3 separate regions of the Homo sapiens genome follow, and all the other regions are linked to region 1. The links are contacts of gene promoters, found by promoter capture Hi-C in human tissues and cell types (Jung and others, 2019). All regions are on one chromosome and are shown on one strand. The core of a region is centred on a gene start or on the middle of the fragment in contact, and the rest is flanking DNA. Distances in the headings are between cores, read along the strand shown.

Region 1 (4,237 bases), core at 614-3,113:
CACCATTCTAACTGGTGTGAGATGATATCTCATTGTGGTTTCAATTTGCATTTCTCTGATGACCAGTGATGATGAGCATTTTTTCATGTGTCTGTTGGCTGCGTAAATGTCTTCTTTTGAGAAGTGTCTGTTCATATCCTTCACCCACTTTTTGATGGGGTTGCTTGTTTTTTTCTTGTAAATTTGTTTGAGTTCTTTGTAGATTCTGGACATTAGCCCTTTGTCAGATGAGTAGATTGCAAAAATTTTCTCCCATCCTGTAGGTTGCCTGTTCACTCTGATGGTAGTTCCTTTTGCTGAGCAAAGACACATGCACACGTATGTTTATTGCGCACTACTCACAATACAAAGACTTGGAACCAACCCAAATGTCCAACAATGATAGACTGGATTAAGAAAATGTGGCACATATGCACCATGGAATACTATGCAGCCATAAAAAATGATGAGTACATGTCCTTTGTAGGGATATGGATGAAGCTGGAAACCATCATTCTCAGCAAACTATCGCAAGGACCGAAAACCAAACATCGCATGTTCTCACTCACAGGTGGGAATTGAACAGTGAGAACACATGGACACAGGAAGGGGAACATCACACACCGGGGCCTGTTGTGGGGTGGGGGGAGAGGGGAGGGATAGCATTAGGAGATGTACCTAATGTAAATGATGAGTTAATGGGTGCAGCACACCAACATGGCAGATGTATACATATGTAACAAACCTGCACGTTGTGCACATGTACCGTAGAACTTAGAGTATAATAAAAAAAATTTTTTTAATCTTCTTTGATAGTGTTAATAACTTAATTTTTTGTATTAAAGTTTTTCTAAATGCTCACGACAAACATTAGAAAAAACTTAGGAAACATACAGTTTAATTTAAAAATATTAATCATATTCACACATCTTTTCTGCAAAACGACAACTTAAATAATGGTAGCTTTTTTCAACTCCAAACACTAAGAAAACTACAACAACAAAACCACTCCTCTTTGTCAAATAAGGAAAACTCAAACTTTTGGCAGTCTGCAAACTGTGAGGTTGACTTTATAATTTTTCATCACAAGGTATACCTCCTGAAGCCTCTTAACTATTTTCAGAAAAAGACAGTGTTGCTGATAATGCAATATATCCTGCATGTTCAACCTTTGTGAATCATACCATGTAGGGCAATTGACTTGGTGAGCAAAATCTCCATGGTCACCTGGGTAGCTGCATTTAGAAATAGGAGCTGTCCAGTCAAGGTTACAGCACTTGTTTTCTTTCCTTAGAATTCAATGCAGTTAAATATCATCTGTAAATTTTGATTAGCTTTGCAAGGCTATTGAAGGTTTGTATATTCCAATGCCTCTGATTAATCAAATTCAATTAAAAATGAAAATAAAGATTTATTTATATAATAGTAGGGAATATATCCTCTTCTTATTTATTTTGAGTTGAAGAGATGGAGATAAATCCAATAGAAAAATAACAATAATAATGTTCAAACATTTTCAACATGTAAAGAATTGTATTTAGAACTATCAAAAATTTATACAATAGGATGTTTTATCACAGAATCTGGAAAGGAGACTTCTAGAAATTGAGAAATACAGGATATTTCTGATATAAGACTGAATGCAAATGTGTATATTCTAAGAAATACAAAAACAACTTGGTAAAAAAAAAAAAGACACTTAAAATGAGTGCTGTGTGCTTTCCTTTCTGGTTTTTATTATTTTTAAATTGTTCCTTCAGCCACCAAAGTTATATGATGGTTTCTGAACAGCGTTTACTTTTGTGACAGTTTCATCTCACTCTGTTGTCCAAACTGATAAAGTCCAGAAGTCTAGAAACAGCAAGGGACTCCCTTCCTCTGTTATATGTAAGCTGACAAGAGGCAGACAAACACGTTCTGAAGTTTTGTGCATGCTGCGTTTTCTCTCCTTGCTGCAACAAGAAAAGCCTTTGTTTTCCAACCTGGCAACCTTTGAAGAAGTGACTCAGACATCTTCATGGCCTCTAAAGGTAAGAGTAAATATAACCAACTAATAACTTTTTCTTATATTAAGACTAAAAATATACAATTGTGGATGTGTTACAACCAGTTAGATTGGTACTTTAAAAGCTGTCATTTGTCACTTTTGAACATTGTGATTTTAAAATCTTAACTCCCAGGAGCATGTTGAGTTACATGTAAAAACACTTTATCTGACAGACTGTAAAAGTTCAGATGTAAACGATGTTTTAGTTATCATGAATACAAACATAGTGAATTAATAAGAAAAGCTGCATAGCAAAGTTTAGAATGGGAATCTTCAATGTTAAACACAAGGACAGGGTGATATTTTAAGTTTAAAAGGATTTGAAGAAAACTTTTCACACATAAGTTAGAAAGTGTTAAAGTGCAATTTAATAATTTTTTTAATTAAAATATTAAAAATTTATGTGGGTACATAGTAGGTATATATACTTATGGGATACATGAGATGTCTTCATACAAGCAGGCAATGTGAATTAAGGACATAAAGGGGAATGGGATATCCATCCCATCAAGCATTCAGCCTTTGAGTTACAGACAATCCAGTTACACTCTCTAAGTTTTATTTTCCCATTTGTTATTCAAATTATGTGATATAGCCATTTATTATAAAGAATCTGACATGCGTTATTATTGATTCTTAAATGTGATGGGCTAGAAATAAGTATTTCTGAATTATAAAGCAAAAATATCTTGAAATTTCCTTATGGTAAATTAAAGATAGAAAACAAACAGAAAATATCTGCTTTAAGCGCACAGATCACTTAGCAGACTTTTGGGGAGTAGGACTGATGAGTTTTTTCTCAAATTCCTAAAACTGCAAAAATATCATTACGTTATCTTACTTTAAAGAAGGTCTAAAAAGACAAGAGATGTAGTTGTTTTTAAAGTAAGTTGCAATCTCACTAAAAACACTTGTGAAACTGTGTAAGAAATAAAATTATAATGTGCTTTCATTTCATTGTCAGAATGAACCACTAAAGCCTAGGCTATAATGAAAAGTTTTAGCATGAAGAATTATAATTAGTATAATTGGTGAAAACCTTTTAAATTAATTACAAATAGGATAATAGGGCTCATCAATTTGTAATATCCTAAATTAGTGATCCATTCAAACAAATGTGTATGCTTACTTGCTTCCTTTATCAAAACACACTTTTGGTCACTATTTAATATGAAACAAATGAGATAATCTTTCCATTTTTTATCAATCTTTAATGTAGACCAGTCCCTCAGTCCCTCAGAATCACTGAGAAAGCTCACACAAATTGTAAAACATAGATGTGAAATAGCAAAATCATGAATTTAACATATGTGTCATTTTTTTCTATCTGAAGACAAATAAACAAAAAACCTTGACAAATATTTCCTTTCATTTAAGACTGACACTACTATTTAGTCCAAAATACTTCATCACTTTATAAAATAAGAGTTACAGCAATACTGTAGACTGTAAGGTAAAAAGTTGCAGAGTGTATAAAATATTTATAAGCTAGTTATACATTTTTAAAAGAGTAGATAGAAATTCAAAGCCAGTACGAAATTCAAAGGAGTTCCTTCTTCATCTGGTTGTCTGAGTCTTTGAAGAAACTTGTGACTGGAAAGTAATATTATGTCAAAATATGATTAATCTAACAGGAAGCAGTGATGTTCCATAATGATAAAGACCCAAGTCTAAACTTAGAAGCAAAACTTCAGGTGGAAAACTGACCCTCCTTCTGCAACCGGCTCAAAATATTTAATGCATGGAAGGATAAAACACCTATTAGAGACTTCATACTACCTAGGAGAATATAAGTGATAATGAAGCTTTCTTGTGAATTAGATATCTTGTTTAAGAGGGCAAGTCAAATTATCACCATTATCTAAGTAAAACATTTTTGTGGATAGTTTTCTTCAGCTGTATATAAACACATTATTTATAACATCATGTTTTCTTGTCCAGTAACTATATTGGCAATTAGCATTTTCCCAGGGAATGCAGACTAATTGTACATTTCACATATTTCATAGGCAGATCAATCAGCACTACTAAACCAAAAGACAGTCTAAATACCAGGTGCCATTAGAACTGAAGAGACATTTGTGTGAGCTGGAGCATCCTGGCTTAGTAGAAATTAACACAATTTAAGAGCAAGTTGCTCTCAAACACGGTGATCTGAACTGAGCAAGAGCTGTCTCCAAAGGTTGCTTCAATGTGAACTAAAATCCCAGA
Region 2 (4,768 bases), core at 1,793-4,292, 46 kb before region 1:
AAAAATTTAGAGACTATAAATAGAACTTATCAGGTAATTGTGGAAAATGTGCTATGGGGGGAAAAGTGACTTCAAGGAAACTTTTGAAAATGGAAAAACATAGCAAGGATTAAAATTTGACCACATAAATTAGCATATAAACTGGGAATTAAAGCGTTTCTAAGGAGGAACATAAAATGTGAAAGTGCTAGTATCAATTAAATAATGGTAATCAAATAGCTAAGAAAATGATTTTCATTGATATCGTACCTTTTAGCTCAAATAAGACAATTCTTTCATTTATTATTCATTTAACGTGCTTAAATAATCTAAAGAAAAAGGCAAGAAGAATTCATTTTGATAGACCTTATGCTGTATTTTTGAAATATAAAAGCTGAGTACTTAAAACAGTTTCTTAAAATGTAATTTAATTAATTTGAATGAACACACATGTAAAAGAAATTATACATAATCAAAATCCTGGAGAAGAAAGGCAGTATAGTATACCATAGTGCTTCTCACCAGGTGGTCCCTGAACCAGTGGCATCAGCAACACTCGGAAACTGGTTAGAAATGCAAATTCTCAGGCACCACCCCCGACCTAGTGCATCAGAAACTCTGGGTTTGAGACACACCAATTTGTATTTTAACAAGCTCTCCAGGTGATTCTGGTGCACTCTGTAGTTTGAGAATCATTAGGAAACTGGTTAATAGTACTTACTCCGGAGCCAGACTGGCAGTTCAAGCTTAACTTTGCTACCAGTTAGCTGAATGACTTTAGTCAAGATACTTTAACTTATTGTTCTATAAAATGGGGCAAAATAGTACTGTCCCATAATATTGTGGGGATTAAATGAATTAATATGTGGAAAAAACCTAGGCCATTTTTTGATACAGAGAAAAGACTCTGTAAATATTAGAAATTGTTGTTATGAATATGAGGTGAGGCCAAGTTCCACTGAAATGAGTGACTTGGTCAAGGTTATACAACTAGTCTCACTTAAGGAATTAACCCACAGTTTTCCCCCACTCATAAGCAGTGTCCGTTTCACATCCATGGAATTCTTGAAAATAGCCACATTTTCTCTAAATGACCAAGTAGTAGACTAATAACATATACATACAGTAATTTTATAATATATATTTCTTGGTCTGAATCTTTATTTTGCATTTTTAATGGTGAGTACTGAAAAGGCCATCAACACCCTTTTCACGAAGCTTTTCATCTCTCTTTTTTTTAACATAGTGATAACCACCAATTACTTTTATTTCATAATCAGTATAACAGGCATGTGCCAGAAATTGCAGAAAGTTTATTGGATGGAAGATAATAAGATCAACATTTACTGTAATAGCAAATAGAAAACTATAGCTTCTAATTTACATCAGCAGGAAAAGAATCAGGTGTCTCTTATAGAATACATTATGCAATTTGGGGAAAGAAAACAAGGAAAACATAAAAACAAGCTTGCATTAATATAGTATTAGGTGCTTTCACAAATAAATCTAAAATTAAGCAATAGCTAAATTGCAATAGACGTGTACTCCTAAATCATGTAGTCATCCCCTGCCGGAGTTCCTGAACCACTGGCAGATTTTCTCCATGGGTGAATTAGGCAAAAAAAAAGTCTCCCTCTATCCTGTGGCTCCAGTATCTTGAAAGGCCTTGTTGTAATCTTCACTCTTTTGGCAAAAGTGGAAAAGAACACGAAGTAGGCACATCCATTGTTAAAAGCCACCACTCAGAACAGACACATCATTAATCCTCTCACATTCCCTCATCCAGGACAGTCATCTGGCCACACCTAACCACAGGGAAGCTGGGAATATGGGTGGGCTCTGTGCTCACTACAACTAACCACACACAAGACATTCACTTATCTGATGCTGAATGTAGTGTCAGATAGGTAATAAGTAAATAATAAATTTAAATATGAAAGTTGGAATTTTTTTTCCTTATTTGTGTAGGTAAATCAGAATATCATGCTTGAAATTCTTTATCCAGTAACATGAGAAGAAAAGCTGTTACCACAGAGGACTATTGTGAGAATTAAATGAGAATGTGTATTATTTTAGTTTAACCTAGTATCGGCATAGTAAAGAGTCAACAATCTTATACACATATATCTAAAAAAGAAAAAAATACTTAGAGAAAAGAAAAGCAAAGAGCAGTAAAGGAAATACGGCCTAAGTTTAAGAATTTACAGCAAAACAATTTTGGATATTTTAATATTTATCATAATTTCTTTAAAATCACTTTATTTTAATTATGGGCTCCTTTAGGTCTTAGGGGACTCTAAGCCATTAAATCTTATTAACATTTTAATTAGAGAAAACTCAATTTCAACTTAGTGCATATAGTTTTCATTTCTCTAGTTTATAAGTTGTTTATGGCTTCAGTCCTTATGTCTATGACCGAAAGGCTATATCACAAAGAGCACTTATCTCTATTTCTACACTGGAATGAGCGCAAAATGCACGAGCACAAATGTAAGTACCGAATCCAAATTACTTTTGTAAGAAAGCTGTTTTTTTGTTTGCATGTTTTTTTGTTTTTGCTTTTTAAGACAGAGTCTCGCTCTGTCGCCTGGGCTAGAGTGGAGTGCAGTGGCCCGATCTTGGCTCACTGCAACTTCCACCTCCAGGGTTCAAGCAATTCTCCTGCCTCAGCATCCCCAGCAGCTGGAACTATAGGCTCATGCCGCCAAGCCCAGCTAATTTTTTGTATTTTAGTAGAGACAAGGTTTCACCGTGTTTCCCAGGCTGGTCTCGAACTCCTGAGCTCAGGCAAGCTGCCCACCTCAGCCTCCCAAAGTGGGAAAGCTGTTTTTAAAAAGCTGTTACTCCTTATTCAATTCAGTGATTTAGTATCGTTATAACATATATTTCTTCCAAAGCAAACCTTCAGTGTACTAATAAATGTGTGAATTAAGTGTAATTATTTGTCAATTAAAGGAGAAGGAGCAGAACATTCAGTTATTGTAGGGAGAATATGCCACTCAGTCTAAGCTAGCTACTGAACACCTCAGTAATACAGTGTACATAAGACCCTCACAGAGCATAGATGTCAATACTTCCAACCAGGTAACTTTAATTCTCATCCTTAAGGTCAGACGCCTTGATATTTGTACCAGAGATTCTATTAACGTTCAATATTAAATTACTAAAATATTCCTGGCAAAGCCAACATAATAGTGAATATTATAATTGTAAGTCAATGGCAATAAAATGTAAAAGAATAATTTGACCTAGCTAGAAAGTCTAAGTGTATAAAATAGATGAGAAAAAACTGTAAAATATTTTAAAATCCTATTAGGAGAAATCCTTGCTTAGAGAATCTTGAAGCTTTGTTTGTTTTGTCTATTCATTTTGAAATTCTGCCTGAAACAGCAAAACAATTCTCAAGAGAAAATAGGAAATATGTAACATTTGAACTAAAATAGCCACTTCAGAATACATGACTCCTTTTGCTATTCTGATAGCTCAGTACATTTCCACATAGAGTTCACACCCTAAAACATGGAGGAAATAAGAATGTCACAGAATAAAGGAGGATACAAAGCTTCACAGAATGAATGACTGGTAAAGATCAGTGGGGAAGAAGGTTCAACTGTCCTGCATATGCACTGGATTTAGATACACACTTCATCCCCTTTCTTGCCTTTTCCACTGGGCTTGTGGATTAGCAAGAATATACCCAAAGATGTGATATACCATGTGAACTCAAAGTGGCAAATAGCATACAGGGCAAATCGGGAAGCTACTTTAATTTTGATTTGGAATTCTCTAATACCCCACCCCCATCAAACACACACACACATTCAGGATCTTTCTATTCTTTGCTAACATTGCTCAACACACTTCCAAATTGGCCTCCATGGTAACTAAACTCTTTTAGGGCATTAGGCCAGCATTATGCAAAATAATAGTAATAAATGCACAAGCAACTCAGATAATAGTCGTTCAGTAAATGATAGCTCCTACCTCTCTTTACAGAAATATTTGCACTATCATAAAAGGATCTGAAACACTATTTTCAAGCCTACAACCCTAAGAAATAAAATTCTAATTATAAAATCAGATTTCATAACAGGTGCTTGGGGACAGATCTGGTGGCAACATGTCTTAAGAGGTCAGACCACATCAATTGTTACCTGCTTATGCACAGAGATTTCCCTTAAATCAGTGCTTTGGGAATTACTGTAGTCAAGAACCAAGAATTCTCACTCCCAGTCCCCACCAGGGCAATAATTTTGTAAAATATTTGCACCATGAACTTTCATTTCACGGCACTCTCAACTTCTGTACTTATTCTGGAAGAGAAACAATTTAAGGATGGGGCACCAGTCCCCAGACCATGTGGAATTAGCATCATTTTAAATCCTCTTAGCTGTATTAGTTTCCAAGACACTTTCTGAGGAAATTAGTAGTGCCTGAACTTTTAATTATTCTTAATTGCATTAATTGTCAGCAGAAAGTAAATGTAGTGTCTTTGCTATTTTAAGTAACAGGGTTTGCAATTCTATAAACAATAAAGTGGAGTACATGAGCAAGCTGGGAAAGAACTCATTTTAAAAAGTCTTAGATGTCAGTTCTAATCAGAATTGACCCTCTTACGGCTGTTTTCTGGCAGCTAACTCAATAGCCTGCCAATCCAAGAGATTTTCTTGACCAGGTACAGCTATAGCTTCCAGAGTTCAAAAAATCAATGGTCATTTTCGAAAGAGCAAGTAGGTCGGTAGACTGGGAATGAGAGATATGTGTACATTTTGATTCAAATACTATTTAA
Region 3 (4,636 bases), core at 729-3,228, 63 kb before region 1:
ACATAGCTCACCAAAAGTATAAAACAACCACACAATAGAAACTACAAAGCAGTCAGCTAACAATTTCATGATAGAATAAAGATCTCACATATCAACATTAACCGTGAATCCAAATGGTCCAAAGGGTCCATTTCAAAAGAACTGAGTGGCAAGTTTGAATGAGTAAACAAGATCCATCTATCTACTGTCTTCAAGAGACCCATCTCACACATAATGACATCCACAGGCTCAAAAGAATACATTTGAGAAAGATCTACCACACAAATGGAAGGCAAAAAAGAGCAGAGATCAGTATTTTATATCAGATAAAACAAACTGTAAACCAACAACAATAAAAAAGAACAAAGAAAGACATTACATAATGATAAAGTGCTCAATTTGACAAGATGACTTAACTATTCTAGAGCAATCAGGCTAAAGAAAGAAATAAAGTGCATCCAAGTAGAAAAATAATAGGTGAAATTATTTATCTTTGCTAATGATATAATTCTATACCTAAAAAACCTTAATGATGCTAGCAAAAGGCTCCTGAAACTGTGAAACAACTTTAGTAAAGTTTTGGTATACAAAATCAATGTCCCCAAATCAGTAACATTTCTATACACCAACAATGTCCAGGCTGAGGGCCAACTCAAGTGCAAAACCCGATTTACAATAGCCACACATACCAAAAAAAAAAAAAAAAGGTACCTAAGAATACTAAGGAGGTGAAGAATCTCTACAAGGAGAATTAGAAAACAATGCTGAAAGAAATCACAGATGTCACAAATTAATGGAAAAATATCTGATGCTCATGGATTGGTTGAATTCATATCATGAAAATGACCATACTGTCCAAAACAATTTACAGATTCATTGCTATTCCTATCAAACTACCAATGTCATTTTTTCACAGAATTAGAAAAGGCTATTTTAAAATACATACAGAAACAAAAGAAAGCACAAATGCCAACGCAGTCCTAAACAAAAAGAACAAAGCCATAGGTGTCACATTACCCAACTTCAAACAATGCTATCAGGCTTCAATAACCAAAACAGCATGGTAGTGCTGAAAAAAAAAAAAAAAAACCAGACACACAGAGCAATGGAACAGAATAGAGAACCCAGAAATAAAGCAGCACACCTGCAGCCACCTGATCTTTGACAGAGTCAACAAAAATAAGCAATGGGGAAAGGATTCCACATTCAATAAATGGTGCTGAGAAAGCTGGCTAGTCATATGCAGAAGAGTGAAATTGGATCCCTACCTTTCACTATACACAGAAATTAACTCAAAATGGATTAAGGATTTAAATGTAAGACATCAAGTTATATGAATCCTAGAAGAAAACCTCGGAACCCCTCTCTGGACATTGACCTTAGGAAGGAGTTTATGACTAAGCCTACAACAAAACCAAAATTTGACAAGTGGGGCCTAAAGAGCTTCCGCACAGCAAAAGAAACTATCAATAGAGTAAACAGGCAACCAACAGACTAGGAGAAAATATTCACAAACTATGTGTCTAACAAAGGTATAATATTCAGAATCTATAAGAAACTTAATTCAACAAACAAAAAACACATAACCCCATTAAAAAGTGGGCAAAAGACACTTCCTAACAAAGTCAAAAGAAGACACACAAGTGGACCAAAAAAAATGAAAAAATGACCAGTATCACTAGTTATCAGAGAAATACAAATCAAAACCACAATGAGATATTCTCTAGCACCAGTCAGAATGGCCATTATTAAGAAGTAAAAAAATAACAGATGCTGGTGAGACTGGGGCGAAAAATGAACACTTGCACACTTTTGATGGGAATGTAAATTATTTCAGCAACTGTGGAAAGCAGTCTGGATATTCATCAAAGAACTGAGAGTTAAACTACCATTTGATTCAGAAATCCCGTTACTGGGTATATGTCCAAAAAAAAAAAATTGTAATACCAAAAAGACACATGCACTAGTGTGTTCATTACAGCACTATTCACGATATCAAAGATATAGAATCAACCTAGGTGACCATCAATGGCAGATTTAAAAAAATGTGGTACATAGACACCATGGAGTACTGCACAGCCATAAAAGAGAACAAAATTACGTCCTTTTGCAGAAACATGCATGTGTGTGACGGCCATATTCCTAAGCAAAACATCACAGGAACAGAAAACCAAATACTGCATGATCTCACTTATAAGTGAGAGCTAAGAATTGAATACATATGATTGTAAAGAGGGGAACAATAGACACTGGTAACTCCAAAAGGAGAGAGGGAGGTGGCCAAATCCTGAAAACTACCTATTGGGTAATATGCTCACTATCTTGGGGTATTCATTCACACCCCAAACCTCAGCCTCACACAATACACCCATGCCATGTGACAAACCTGCACATGTGTCCCCTGAATCTAAAGTAAAATTATTCTTTAAAAATACACATTTTACAATGATGGCTCTTTTGAAAATAGATGGGAGGATAGATGAAGGATGGAATGATGGTGATGAGAAAGGAGGCTGTGGCAGTAATGTAAGCACTGAATGATGCTGGCTCCTACATCAGAGGTCTGATTCTGAATATGCTTTCAAGAGAAAGTGAATTTGCTGATAAATTGGATGCAGTGTGAGGGAAAACGAGAATTCAAGGATAATTTCAAGTATTTGACTTTGAGCACTTAGAAGAATGAAGTTGATGTCAACTGAGATGGAATATGCTTTAAGTGAAGCAGGTTTTGAGGAGTACAATTAGGAACTTCATTTTGCAGCTGTTGAATTTATGTCTGTTGAGAAGACATAAATTCAAGAAAAGCTGTTGAATACATAATTGCATATACAAATCTGGATTTCAAAAAAGAAATCTGGGCCTGAGATATAAATATTGGAGTGATAATCATTGCAATGTTACTTAGAACCATAAAACCCACTAAAAAGTTTCTCAAAATTTTTTTATTAGAAAAAAAAAAATGGCAAAAAACTGGAACACCTTAACTTGAAGAGGCAGTTGGACAGAAGAAAAGGAACTAGCAAAAGAGACAGAAAAGACTAAATGAGAAAAATAGAAAACTACAAGATGGAAGTGCTCTGATGGCAAATTAAAGATTGTGTATTAAAAAAGTAAATAAACGAGATCAAGTAGGTCCAGTAGGATCATATTGGGTCAGTGAGTTGAGCAATGTGGGATTATTTTGACTTGATAATAGTAGTACTCGTGGAGGGATGGGAAAAAAAGCCTGACAAAGAGTGTGTTTAAAAGGAAATGGATACACTATTTTATAAAATAAAATGTGTAACTCAGTAAGATAATGTTGATTCAAGGAATGCATACAAATGGAGTACATACTATATGACTCCTTTTATGTAAAAAAAAAACAAAAACAAAACAACAACAAATAAAACAAACACACACCAGCAATCTATGGTGTTAGGACCCAGAAAAATTGACAATGTGAGGCAGTCGTTCTTGGAACCAGATAAAAGAGAGATCTTTGGGATGCTGGTAATGTTATGTTCTGAGTACTATTTTCATGCGTGTGTTCAATTTGTAAAAAATCCTCAAGCTATACACTTATGATATGTCCACTTTTCCTTTTTAAAATCAAGAAAATATAAACAATAACTGGAGACATAAATATAGAAAGCTCTTTAAAGAAACTGGTTGTGAATGGAAGCAAATAAATTAAGTGGTAGCTCATAGGGAAATGGAAGCAAGCTTTGGTTTTGTTGTTTGTTCTGATTTTGTTTTTGTTTTATTTGTGGAGGAAATAGGATGTTTCTTTGTCATTGGGACAATACAGTTAAAAAGGAAAAAAATTAACTATATAGGAGAAAGAGAAAAAAAACTGGTTGAAGACATAGATGTTTTGGTGGAGGTGAGAAAAGATCATACACAGAAGAGAAGAGAGTGGTTTTAGGTAGGAACGTGGATAGTTATGGATGGTAATAAGTGAAAGGCAGTTTAAGAATAACAGAGGCATGTAAAAGAATTCTTTAAAATACATTGGCTTTCCCAGTGAAATAGAATGCAATGTCAACAACAGAGAAAGAGGCTATGCAGGAGGTGATAAAGGTATGAAGAGAGAGAAAAGTAAGCAATGGTCAGCTAAGACAGTGGTAGAAAGAATAGTCTGTAGAAATAGAGTGTTATTGCCAGGCAATATTGAAGTATCACTTAAATTTTGGTGTCATTAATTTGAAAGCAAAATTAAGCAGCATGGTAGTTTGTCTTACTCCTGCAATTCACCTATAGAGATGCAGATATGGATCGGTGGTAAGCAAGACTATATGCTGGCTCTGCCATGAAAAGCAAAGTCAGTAAAGGCAAAATAGAGAAGGGTATATACACGGGGGTATAGAGTCTTGTGTATATAGTGGGGGTGTATATAATGCTTAATCTGTGGAAGTAAGAAGAAGAGGGAAATAGGAAAGTGTCAGGGTGAATGGACTGAAAGTCCCAGTGGGAGTGAACAATTTGATAGAATCAGAATTTTAACTATGTATTATAAATACACACTATATTTAAAAAGTCATTATTATGATTTTCTCAGTCAGTATTAGTTATCTTTGCTCACTACTTCTTTTTTTTTTTTTTGCATCTAAACTCAGTCTCTTCTTTCTAGAAATGTCTTTTAATATTTTTAAAGACAGACTCTATTGGTAGTAAA

What was found. The method cuts DNA at HindIII sites, captures the fragments that hold promoters and counts their contacts. A contact is called where the count stands out against the background at its distance.
Region 2: a fragment that was not itself captured here is called in contact with the fragment with the promoter of PLSCR5 in region 1 in 1 of the 25 tissues and cell types used here (hippocampus).
Region 3: a fragment that was not itself captured here is called in contact with the fragment with the promoter of PLSCR5 in region 1 in 2 of the 25 tissues and cell types used here (aorta and hippocampus).

The regions. Positions count from the first base shown.
Region 1 is chr3:146,602,972-146,607,208 of GRCh38, reverse strand. PLSCR5 (phospholipid scramblase family member 5) reads left to right here and starts at 1,863. Exons shown (of 8, transcript NM_001085420.2): 1 at 1,863-2,009. The coding sequence starts at 1,997. The HindIII fragment of the contact is 14,045 bases long and covers 1-4,237 here.
Region 2 is chr3:146,649,949-146,654,716 of GRCh38, reverse strand. No RefSeq gene overlaps it. Among named protein-coding and RNA genes, the nearest start is that of PLSCR5, 47 kb to the right of the region's middle. The HindIII fragment of the contact is 3,439 bases long and covers 1,323-4,761 here.
Region 3 is chr3:146,665,825-146,670,460 of GRCh38, reverse strand. No RefSeq gene overlaps it. Among named protein-coding and RNA genes, the nearest start is that of PLSCR5, 63 kb to the right of the region's middle. The HindIII fragment of the contact is 6,463 bases long and covers 1-4,636 here.